2 separate regions of the Homo sapiens genome follow, and region 2 is linked to region 1. The links are contacts of gene promoters, found by promoter capture Hi-C in blood cells and fetal thymus (Javierre and others, 2016). All regions are on one chromosome and are shown on one strand. Each heading gives the region's core, a stretch centred on a gene start or on the middle of the fragment in contact. The rest is flanking DNA. Distances are from core to core; before and after follow the strand shown.

Region 1 (5,919 bases), core at 2,616-5,115:
GTGGCTGTAAGCAGGAGCCTAGTTAGAAACAGGTCTCACATCTGATAGTAAAAGGAGTATAAAAGAAGGGGGAGATTTTTGCAAAAAAAAAAATGAACAAATTAATAGATTAGCATATCAGGCAGCTTGGCTGTAGTGAAACAACTGAACAGTGGACATAGAGTCCAAAGATCTGGATTTGAATTCCAACTCTACCACAAATAGCTGAGTGAATACCTTAACTTCTCTCAACTCTCAGTTTCCTCACTTAAAGTGGTGTCCATGAATGCACACTGTAACATCCTCAAGAACTACGCAGATGTGAGTTACGATTATAAAAAGGAGCAGCCAGAGAGATATGAAGAAAATCAGCATATCTCAGTCCATGAAGAACGGGAAGAAGTGAGTTTCAAGGAGGAGGCATGATCAACATAGTCAGATAGTACAAAGAGGTCAGGGAAAAAAGGAGTTTTTGAGAGTGCCCTACAGGTCACAGGTGTAGCTCTAGCATGAATGTTGGGTCACTATGCTGTGTTCTGATATGGCTGGCCTGATGAGGCCAAGGATATAGATCAGAATCTTTCATGAATAGGAGCATGATAGCTTTCCCACCTCAACCCTCTGTGAAGAGGGTGGAGGAAGTGGGGTCTTAATTGGATGCCAACTCAGAAATAGGCCTCAGAAACAACCTGAGAAGGAACGCCAGCTTCTAATCTCACTCTTTATGAGGAGGGCAGATGTTTCCACACAAACTCCTGAAGGGCTTTACTAAACCAAGGTGGGGATTGAGGACTGGATAGGACCCCTGCAGCCTGACAACAAGCTAAATTTTGTAAGTCAAGTTATTTAGAGTCATGGACCTCTGTGTTACAGTCCTTTTCTTATTCCCTAGACTTTGATAAAGTCCTGTCTAGGCATCTAAATGTGCCAGTCTGTTCTCAGATTGTGGGCAATATTTATGGGCACAAGTATTTCAGGAGAACAGTTGGTAATAATATGGGTATATGATCTCCAAAAAGGAGAAAGTCAATCTGGGAGGAAAAAGCTGAAACTCTGATGTCCAACCTCCCTTACCCAAGTGGACAGTCTTCCACCTGCACCAACTTTAGATCATCAACATTTAATTTTATTTAAGGAGAAGATGGGTTCTTACCACAAGGAACCCGACAACAACCAGGAACCAAACTATGTTGGTAAAGTATGATAAAATAGACACATCTGAAACAGGGCTTAAAATGTTATGTCAATTTACACCAACTTTTCAGAAATCCAGTGAACTATATAAAAGTGAGATACAGCTTCCCATTTGTTTCTATTTGCTATACATGAATAAATACGGAGAAGTGCTGGTGGGCTCATTCTTGTTATCTGCCTATTACAGTTTATATGAATCAAATCAGGTTATGCTATGGGCCCGCACCTGTTGAGGCCACTTCCTGGCATGGAGGGTGGAGAGTGTCCTCTGCAGAAGAAGAATGCACTTCTGGGACTTCAAGCGTAGGTCATTCATTGTTAGCAAATTCCTGACCCTTGTTACTGAGAAAGTGGTTCCTCAAGTAGGAAACTGAAACTGACTAGGGATTTTCCACCCCCAAGAACTTAGACCATACTAGGTTTCGAGTTTGTTTTTGTTTGTTTGTTTCTTTTTGTTTGTTTGTTTTTGTTTTGTTTTAGATGGAGTCTTGCTCTGTTGCCAGGCTGGAGTGCAGTGGTGCGATCTCACCTCACTGCAACCTCTGCCTCCCTGGTTCAAGCAATTCCCCTGCCTCAGCCTCCTGAGTAGCTGGGACTATAGGCGCACACCACCACGCTCGGCTAATTTTTTTGTGTGTTTTAGTAGAGACAGGGTTTCACCATGTTGCTCAAGGATGGTCTCGATCTCCTCAACTCGTCATCCACCTGCCTCAGCCTCCCAAAGTGCTGGGATTAACAGGCGTGAGCCACCACGCCCGGCCGGTTTTGAGTTTTAATAAGTTTTGGGTCATCTGTGCTGGGGGGTAAGACAAGAGGGGCCACTGGAGCAGCCTGGGGGTGGAGGAAGAGGAGTAGTGGGCTGGGGCCGGTCAAGGATGGAAGCCCAGCAGGAAGACTGAAATCTTTTCTGCTTGGAGGGCTAGAATTGAGTTATTTTATCATCACAAAATTATACTTTGTGCTATTTGTATTTTCATGCTGTTTAAATTTGTATAATTATTTCTTTTTGTTCATTTGGGGTTAACATTAACTACGGAAATTCTGAAACTTGAACACATTAGGGTCACCTGGGCTGCCGGTTAAATACACGCTTCCCACCCACCCCACATTCACTGAACCTGAATCTCTAAAACAGAGCTGGGAAGGTGCCTGGTTAACCTGCTCTCCAGGTGATTCAGATGCAGGTCAGACCTACTTCTAAGGATAATGGAATCTAAAGGAGAAAGAAGCATCCTTAAGGGCCAGATCGATGGTGATGCTGACCTCTGAAGTCAAAGTGGGGAAAACCCTCAAGGAAAAGTGACACCCAAAAGAGAAATGACTAATATCACACAGTTGCCCTTCTGAGCACTCCTTGGTAAAATTAATCCTAGGAAAACATGGTATTTTGTTTTCATAAGGGCCATGAGCCAAGCATATCTCCTGTCCCCCTCCTTCCTTCCTTCTGTGCGCCATTCTTTTTCTGTTTCATTTTTCCTTTTTGGATCCCTGCTTGGGCACTCTAATTGCATGGCCTCAGCCTCAGCCTCCTTGCCTCTCCTCTGGCCCGAATGCTTCTCCAAATCTAGCGACATGAAAGCGGAATTAGGGGTTGACTAGATCCCGATAGGTCATCATCCATAAGATGCCAGTGGAAAAGGTGCCCATTCTGGGAGCTGCAGGTCACTGGCTTCCCATTGCAGACCAGGGAGGCCCTTGAGCCAGCAGATCACCTCTGGGCTCTTGGCCCACCAAGTAGTGGTGGGTCTGTAAGGAGGGAACTTTGCCGACTTTCCCTCCAAAGCTCAAATCTCCCAACCCACAATCACTTCAGAATATCATCCTTGCTCCCAATCTGAGGGCCACTAGAGACTCGGAGAAGAGGCCCCGGCAGGCCCTCGACAATGGGCACCTGTGGTCGATCGACAGCCCCTCCAATGTGGCCGCTGTGACGGCTCTACGTTGACATTCAGGCAGTGTGATTTTAGGTAGCGCCTCTGCCCCTCTCCCAAGTGACCCCGGGACCCCTGGGAATCTCCAAGAACCACAAGGAATCTCTGTGACTTGCCACGTTTCTTAATCAGTTTCCTTCCCCACACAAGAATAATAACAACAGGAAAAGACAGAAAAGGATGATAAGAGGATAGACTCACTTCCACAACAACAACAACAAACAATAACACCACCACAACAGGGAAAGACAGAAAACGATCGAGGGATAAAGAGTTACTTGCGCGGTTCCGCCGCCACCTCCGGGCCGCGCCATTAAGCGCCTGGAAGCGCAGGGCGCCGGGGAACCGCAGCGCCCCGGGTGCGCTCGGAATCCATTCTGCCGCCCCCGCCCCCGCCCCCGCCCCGGCCACCTCCGCTACAGCAGCCGCCGAAGTCGGGCGGGTCACCCTCCCGTGCGTGCCCTGCCGCCATTTCCCTGGAGGGAGGGCAGAGGTGCCCCCTCCTCACCCCACCCCTCGCGCCCCTCACCGTCCTCCGGGTAGAAGAACACCAGGAAGCGGGATGGGCTCCTGGGATCCTGGCGGACCTCACACTCGCCGCCTCCCGACCTCTTCGGGCTCTGGAAGTACATCTGCAACTTGGTGTTCAAGTTCTTCGGGGGGTCGGGGCCCCAGGAGCCCTCGACCAGCAGCGGGAAGGAGCCGGGCACAGCCATCCTCAGCTCCGCTCTCCGCCGGACTGCAGGGGCCGCGCCAACTCCGGGCCGCTAACTTTGACTCTTTCGCTTTCGTTTCCTGGAAAACTCCCAGGCCTTGGTTTCCTTTTGCCTTCAGCCTAACACAGCGGACCCAGGAATGGCAGAGTCATCCCCCGCCCACCTCCCCACCTTCGCATTCGGCCCACAGCCAAGGCCAAAGTAACCCTTTGGGGCTGGCCAGCGGCGCCCCGGGAAGGCGGCCTCAGTTCACCTGTGCTCCACGGGCTCCCACACCCCCTCCTAACTCCGGGCCCCCTACCTGCCGCTCGCCCCAACCGCAGATCAAGTCGGCAGCTTTGGGGCACCAGACCTTGCCCAAACGCAAAGATCATTTAATTTTTGCCGCAAGCCGACCCTTTACAAAAGAATAAAATGACTCACAAACTGTGGCCCCTTTAGAATGTTTGCTGCCTATTTGGGGACTTTTTCAGCAATCATTGTGATTATCAGAATTTTACGTTGCTTTCCCTGTTTTGCTTTCTGTTCCTTGATCTGTTAATACTACATGTCTAGAAATGTGGGGGAAACAATTACACTCACAGTTTTTTTTGTGGAATATTTACTAGGCGCCATGCACTCACTCACTGAACCCTCGCTGAGCTCACGGAGCTATGGTGAACACAGTGGGCAATAGGTGCTCTGGGAAAGAATATACTTGTGTTCCTGGAACAGATGAGGAGTGGCTCCTAGTCCAGCTGTGGCGGCTCAGGGAGGGTTTATAGGGCGGTGACATGTAACCTGATAACCCCAGGATATCAGGGGATAGCCTTGGAGGGTTAGGAAGTGGGGTTCCACGGTGTGATTCACATGTACAGGATCACTCCGGCTGCTGCGTGGTGGCTAGAGTGGAGGCAGAGAGATCAGCCAAGTGGCTACCATAGTGTCCTAAGTGAGAGACAAGGGTGGCTGAGACTGGGGTGCTGGCAGAGAAGAACTGAGAAAACGAGGATTCTCAATTAATAGTGAAAGCAGGACTTGCTGAAGAATGTGAGCCTTGAGAGAAGGAGAAGCTCAAGGATGACTCCATGGTCAGCCATGGATGGCCCGTGCAAGTGGCTGGATAATAGTGGCATCTGCAAGAGGGGAGGCCGAGTGATGGGAGAGAAGCTGGGGCTGTGTGTTTCCTTGACCCCAAATAAAGCAGTGTTGCAAGTCGAGGGGGGCGGGGGGATTATCATTCCAGTGCTACCGATACCTCAGGTCAGAGAAGTGTCTGCTGGACTGCTGAGGAGCGGCAAGCATAGTCTCCTGGTGAGGAGGGAGGAGAGGGAGATGGCAGCTACTGAAGACTGAAAGGGAGGGAAGGAAGTGGAAGCAGAGAGCGTAACACGCTCTTTGCAGAAATGTGACCGTGAAGGGGAAGAAGGAGCCAGGCAGTAGGTTGTGGGGTTACAGGATCGGGCTGAATTTCAGAATGAAGAGAACCAGAGATGGGCCAAATGGTTTACCTGGCTTTTATTTCGGCTCTGTAATAATCCTAAACAGTACACAGATATTTTCTCCTGCCTCCAGCTTGCTACCTGCAGATGGCGCTCATCATCTGATCCAAAACTGCTCTGGACCCCCGCATGCGGAAGACGGGAGGACAAGCGCCCTCAGCCAGACTTGGTGACTGTTTCTCCCCAGGGCCTTTACATCTCATCCCAAACCACAACTAAAATCAGCACTCCTCCTCTCCCACTCTCCCCTGAGTTTGGGGTTCCAGAACTCAGCAAAAAGTTTCCCTTTTTCCTCACATAATTATTGTATAAGAAATAAAGTCAGAGGCATTTCTGGATTACTTTCGAGGATTTATTTAATTATCGACAATGTGTCTTACCACCGAGGTCTGCTTATCATGCCTGGGTGGACTGGGAAGGAGCTATCAGAGGATCAGGATGGCAGGTCTTGAAAGCCAAGGAAAGAAAGTTCTAGAAGGGGCAAATTGTTGAACGGCATTAGCTCCTGCAGTACTTTGTTTTCTGCAAGTTATTTTTGCCTTGTTCACTTGAAGAATGCGTATCCTCTCACAATTCTCTGTTTCCTGTGGGTATCTGCCTTCTGATCCTTTCTTCCTG
Region 2 (6,273 bases), core at 1,190-3,689, 90 kb after region 1:
TATTTGCATATATGCATCAAAAGATGTACAAATGCATGGTTACTGAAATATTAAGTTATTAATAGGATTATTTTTGCATTTTTCCATACATATTTTTGTACTAATTTCTTTTTTACAGTGAATCCACGTTATCTTAATAACATAGATAAAAACGTATTTAAAAATATAAATTGGCCAGGCGCAGTGGCTCATGCCTGTAATCCCAACACTTTGGGAGGCTGAGGTGGGTGGATCACTTGAGATCAGGAATTCGAGACCAGCCTGGCCAACATGGTGAAACCCCGTCTCTATTAAAAATGCAAAAAAAATTAGCCAGGCATGGTGGCGGGCATCTGTAATCCTAGCTACTCGGGATGCTGAAGCAGGACAATAGCTTGAACCCGGGGGGTGAAGGTTGCAGTGAGCTGAGATTGCGCCACTGCACTCCAGCCTGGACGACAGAGGGAGACTCTGTCTCAAAAATATAGATAGATACATGATAGATAGATACATAGATAGATAGATAGATAGATAGATAGATAGACAGATAATTTTATCTTTTAGTCTATACATATATATATGTTCAAGGTGACTAGAAGATAAAGTGATTTACAAATTGAATGTTCAAGGTGACTAGAAGATAAAATGATTTACAAAAATGAAGTAGCAGAGCTCATTCCTGGCATAGTGGATAAGGGCACACACATTGGAGTCAGAGAGATTTGATTTTGAATTCTTGCTGTAGCATTAATAAGGCCATTTAGTGTAAGGCTTAAAAGCAAGGGTTGCCTGGGATTTGAATCCCAGCTCCACCATTACTGAATGTGTGACTTTGGGCAAGTCATTTAACTTCTCTATGCCTTAGTTTCCTCACCCAGAAAGTGAGGATAATGATACTACTTGCCTTGTAAGAAGATTAAAAGAGTTAACATTAGTTTAATGGTTAGAACAGTGCTATGTGCATGCTTGACTTTCCCCTCTTCCTTTGCCTTGTCTGGTTTTCTTTTTTTTTTTTTAATTTTAATTTTAATATTTATTTTAAGTTCTGTGGTACATGTGCAGGATGTGCAGGTTTGTTACATAGGTAAATGTTTGCCGTGGTGGTTTGCTGCACCTAAATACCCATCACCTCAGTATTAAGCCCAGTGTGCATTAGCTATTTTTCCTAATGTTCTCCCTTCCCCCACCTCACTCCCAGACAGGCCCCAGTGTGTGCTGTTCCCTTCCCTGTATTCATGTGTTCTCACTGTTCAGCTCCAGCTTATAAGTGAGAACATGTGGTGTTTGGTTTTCTGTTCCTGTGTTAGTTTGCTGAGGATAATGGCTTCCAGCTCCATCCATGTCCCTGCAAAGGACATGATCTCATCCTTTTTATGGCAGTATAGTATTCCATGATATATATGTACCATATTTTCTTTATTCAGTCTATCATCATTGGGCATCTGGGTTGATTCCATGTCTTTGCTATTGTGAAAAGTGCTGTAATGAACATATGTATGCATGTATCTTTGTAACAGAATGATTTATATTCCTTTGGATACATACCCAGTAATGGGATTGCCAGGTCAAATGGTATTTCTGGTTCTAGATCTTTGAGGAATCACTACACCATCTTCCACAATGGTTGAACTAATTTACATTCCCACCAACAGTGTAAAAGCATTCTTATTTCTCTGCAAACTCACCAGCATCTATTGTTTCTTGACTTTTTAATAATCACCATTCTGATTGGCGTGAGATGGTATCTCATTCTTTTAATGAAGACCCATTGTGGGACGCCTGGAATCTCAAAGTAGCATGCAACCATAGTTTGCAAATGAAAGGTGAAAGCTATAGTCTGTCTTATCAATACCTTTTTTTTTTTTTTTTTGAGACAGAGTCTCGCTCTGTCACCAGGCTGGAGTGCAGTGGAGCAATCTCGGCTCGGCTCACTGCAATAACCGCCTCCCTGGTTCAAGCAATTCTCCTGCCTCAGCCTCCTGAGTAGTGGGGATTACAGGCATGCGCCACCATGCCCAGCTAATATTTGTATTTTTAGTAGAGATGCAGTTTCACCATGTTTGCCAGGATGGTCTTGATTTCCTCACCTCGTGATCTGCCCGCCTCGGCCTCCCAAAGTGCTGGGATTACAGGCGTGAGCCACTGTGCCTGGCCCCAATATTTTTAAGAAAAGTGACGACTTTAATGTTGTGTGTTACTCCCACCCTGAAGTCACAATTGGCTTCTGGCAGGCCAGTAACAGACTCCATGAGCAAGGATAGCATGTTCTCAGTCATGACGTCTTGGATATTGTGAAGTGCAACCAAAAGAGAGACTTGTAAAGGATCTCTTTTGCAAATTCATCTATTTCATCCATTTCCACTTCTTCCATTTTATCCACTCTTCTGGAAAGTATTACTTTTGTGCCTGAATGTTCCAACTTACTGATTTTTAAGGAGACAGAAACACTCAGGATATTTTTATATCTGATTTGAGATTTGAAAGGATTTGGCCTTTATATTACTTCCTATTTTTAAATACTTTGGAAGAATATAGATTTGACTCATTGCTTTATTCTTTTAATAACAAGGAAAATGGTAACTCATTGGCTAAAATATTGCATAAAGTTAAACATTATATTTTGTAAAGTCAGATTTACTCACCAAATCATGGGGAAAAAAGTAACAAACATGATAGTAAATGATGGCGATCATCCACTGATTTAAATTAATAGAGCTACAACATTTTACCGCAAATAAAGTTTCTGTTAGTGCATAACAAAAGGGCAGTCTGCAGATGTAACCAAGACACAAAAGTGTTGCATATTCAGAAAGAAGACTGGGTTTAAGTAGACTTTTATCACAAAGGAAGGGGACAATAGAGACTCTGACTTCCATTTTTCATTGTTTTTTATCTTTGAAAGAGAAATAAAGGAACTTTCCCTTAGCATAATAAAGAGTCAAAGTCAACAGTATTCACAGTGAAGAAGAAGTCACTCTCCTTAGAAGTAGTAAAAATCAAAATAAAACAAAAATCAGATATGTATACTGATATGTATACTTTGCTTCAATATATTATTTGGGGCTGGGCACGGTGGCTCACGCCTGTAATCCCAGCACTTTGGGAGGCCGAGGCAGGTGGATCACGAGGTCAGGAGATCGAGACCATCCTGGCTAACAAGGCGAAACCCCGTCTCTAATAAAAATGCAAAAAAAATTAGTTGGGCGTGGTGCTGGGTGCCTGTAGTCCCAGCTACTCGGGAGGCTGAGGCAGGAGAATGGCATGAACCCCAGAGGTGGAGCTTGCAGTGAGCCGAGATCATGCCACTGCACTCCAGCCTGGGCAACAGAGCGAGACCCCATCTCAAAATATATATATTATTTGGAACTCTTCTTGGTCATCCAAATAAGGTGAGGAAAAGAAAAGAGGGTAAGTATAGAAATGAAAATGATAAAAAGTTATGCTTTACAGGCCGGGTGCGGTGGCCCATGCCTGTAATCCCAGCACTTTGGGAGGCCGAGGCGGGTGGATCATGAGGTCAGGAAATCAAGACCATCCTGGCTAACACGGTGAAACTCCGTCTCTACTAAAAATACAAAAAAATTAGCCAGGCGTGGTGAAGGGCACCTGTAGTCCCAGCTACTTGAGAGGGTGAGGCAGAAGAATGGCATGAACCCAGGACACAGAGCTTGCAGTGAGCCAAGATTGTGCCACTGCACCCCAGGGACAGAGCGAGACTCTGTCTCAAAAAAAAAAAAAAAAAAAAAGTTATGCCTTACAAATAATACATTTTGTGAAAATAAAAAATAACATGAATGAGAAAGTGAAAAGACAACTCACAGAATGGAAGAAAATATTTTCAAATCATATAGCCAATAAGACTTGTACCTAGAATATATAAAGATCCCTTACAAGTCAACAATTTTTAAAAAATCCAATTTAAAAACCAACAAAGGATTTGAATAGACATTTCTTAAAGGAAGATATACAAATGGCCAATAAGGACATTAAAAAGATGCACAACATCGTTAGCCATTAAGAAAGTGGAAATCAAAACCACAATGAGGTGCCACTTCACCCCACTAGAATGACTAAAATGAAAAAGACACATTGCTGGTGGAAATATAAAATAAGGCAACGATTTAGGAAAATAATGTATCAGTTCCTTAAAAAGTTAGTTACCATGTGACTCAGCAATTTCACTTCAAGGTATATACCCAAGAGGCGTGAAAACATACGTCCACACAGTAACCTCTACAAAAATACTATGGACTGAATGTTTGTGTCCCTCTTTAAATTCTTAAGTTGAAGTCCTAATTCTCAATGTGATTGTATTTGGAGTTGGGGCTCTCGGGAGACAATTACGTTTAGATGAGGTCATGAGGGTGGACCCCATGATGGGATTAATATAAGAAGATGAAGGGACAAGCCCATGTGAGGAAACAGCAAGTAGGGGCCATCGACAAACCAGGATGAGAGAGCCCTTACTAAGAACTCTACCATGCTGGGACCCTGATCGCAAACCTCCAGCCTCCAGACTATGAGAAAAAAAGTTCATTTTTGAAGTCATCCAGTCTATGATATTTGATACAGCAGCCCAAGCTGACTGAGACAACAAATGTTCACGGCAGCATTATTCACAATCATCAAAAAGTAGAAACAACCCAAATGTCCACCAACTGAATGGATAAATAAAAGGTGATATATTCATACAATGGAATATTATTTGGTTAAAAGAAGAAAAAGTAATGAAGTTCTTATACATTCTGCAACATACCTGGAAAAAACATGCTAAGTGAAAGAAGCCAGTCACAAAAGGCCACATATTGTATGAATCCATTTATGTGAAATGTCCAGAATATATAAATCCATGAAGACAGAAAGTATAGTAGTGGTTACCAGAGTTTGGGGGAGGAGGAAATAAGGGGTGACTGCTAATGCATATGGAGTTTCTCTTGCGGTGATGAAAATTTCTTTGTTTTATTTATTTTTATTTTTTAGAGACAGTCTTGCTCTGTCACCCAGGCTGGAGTGCAGTGGCGCAATCATGGTTCACTGCAGCCTCAATCTCCCTGGCTCAAGTGATCCTCCCACCTCAGCTTCTGAAGTAGCAGGGATTATAGGTATGAGCCACCACACCTTGCTGAAAATTTCTAAAAGTAGATAGCAGTGGACTCAGTAAACATACTAACAACCACTGAATTGCACACTTTTAAAGAGTGAATTTTATGGCATGTAAATTATATCTTAATAAAGCTGGTACCAAAAAACAAGAATCAATAAACCAAAAAAAAAAATCAATAAACCAATTCCTAGAAAATATATAGATATGATACATTAGCTCATAGTAACAGAATAACTTAATTTTAATGGCAAAAATAAGCCTCAACAGATATCCTCTGCTCTTGCATAAATATATTACAAATAATAATAGTCTCCAAGGTAATTATAGATATAATAAAATAAAACTTAATCTCAAGACACTAACATGATCAACTATAAAATTTGGTAAAATGAAAGCAAAATGTAGATATTTTTAAAAAGATAATACCAAAGGAAATGATTAGGAACTTGGCTTGCTATACTTTAAAATGCATCTTTCCACAGACTGGGAGAAAATTTTTGCAAAAGATATATCTGATAAAAAGAAGTGTTATCTAAAACATACAAAGAACTCTTAAAAGTCAACAATTTTTTTAAAAAACACCAAATTTTAAAATGAGCAAAAGATGTGAACAGACACTTCACCAAGGAGGATATACAGACAGTAAATAAGCATATGAAAAGATGCACAATGTCATGTTAGTGAGTTGCAAATTCAAACAACAATGAAGCAGGGTGAAGTGGCTCACACCAGCCTGTAATCCTAGTACTTTAGGAGACTGAGAAGGGAGGATTTCTTGAGCCCAGGACTTCAAGACCTGGACAATATAGTGAGACCTCATCTCTACAAAAAATAAACAAAATAAGCCAGGTGTGGTGGATTATAGTCCCAGCTACCAGGGAGGCTGAGGTGGAAGGATCACTTGATCCCAGGAGGTTGCGGCTGCAGTAAGTGATTGTGCCACTGCACTCCAGCCTGCGGGACAGAGCGAGACCCCAGCTCAAAAAATAAATAAATAAAAATAAAAACAAAACAACAATGAGCTACCCTATACGCCTGTTAGAATGGTGAAAATCCAGAACATTGGCAACACCAAATGCTGGCAAGGATGTGGAGCAACAGGAACACTCATTTGTTGTTGATGGGAATGCAAAATGGTACAGCTACTTTGAAGACAGTCTTGCAGTTTCTTACAAATCTAAACATACTCC

What was found. Contacts are between HindIII fragments. The CHiCAGO score rates a contact against its expected background, and 5 or more counts as called.
Region 2: a fragment that was not itself captured here is called in contact with the fragment with the promoter of PARP14 in region 1 in 1 of 17 cell types (total B cells); the score reaches 5.2 in total B cells.

Annotation. Positions count from the first base shown.
Region 1 is chr3:122,678,785-122,684,703 of GRCh38, reverse strand. It overlaps PARP14 (poly(ADP-ribose) polymerase family member 14), which reads right to left and starts at 3,865. Exons shown (of 17, transcript NM_017554.3): 1 at 3,634-3,865. The coding sequence starts at 3,820. RefSeq lists enhancers at 1,452-1,641, 3,127-3,216, 3,758-4,157, 3,582-4,354, 4,758-4,877 and 1 more and a silencer at 3,468-3,517. The HindIII fragment of the contact is 13,941 bases long and covers 1-5,919 here.
Region 2 is chr3:122,587,341-122,593,613 of GRCh38, reverse strand. All of the region lies in intron 1 of PARP15 (poly(ADP-ribose) polymerase family member 15), which reads right to left. Among named protein-coding and RNA genes, the nearest start is that of PARP15, 13 kb to the right of the region's middle. The HindIII fragment of the contact is 7,907 bases long and covers 1-6,273 here.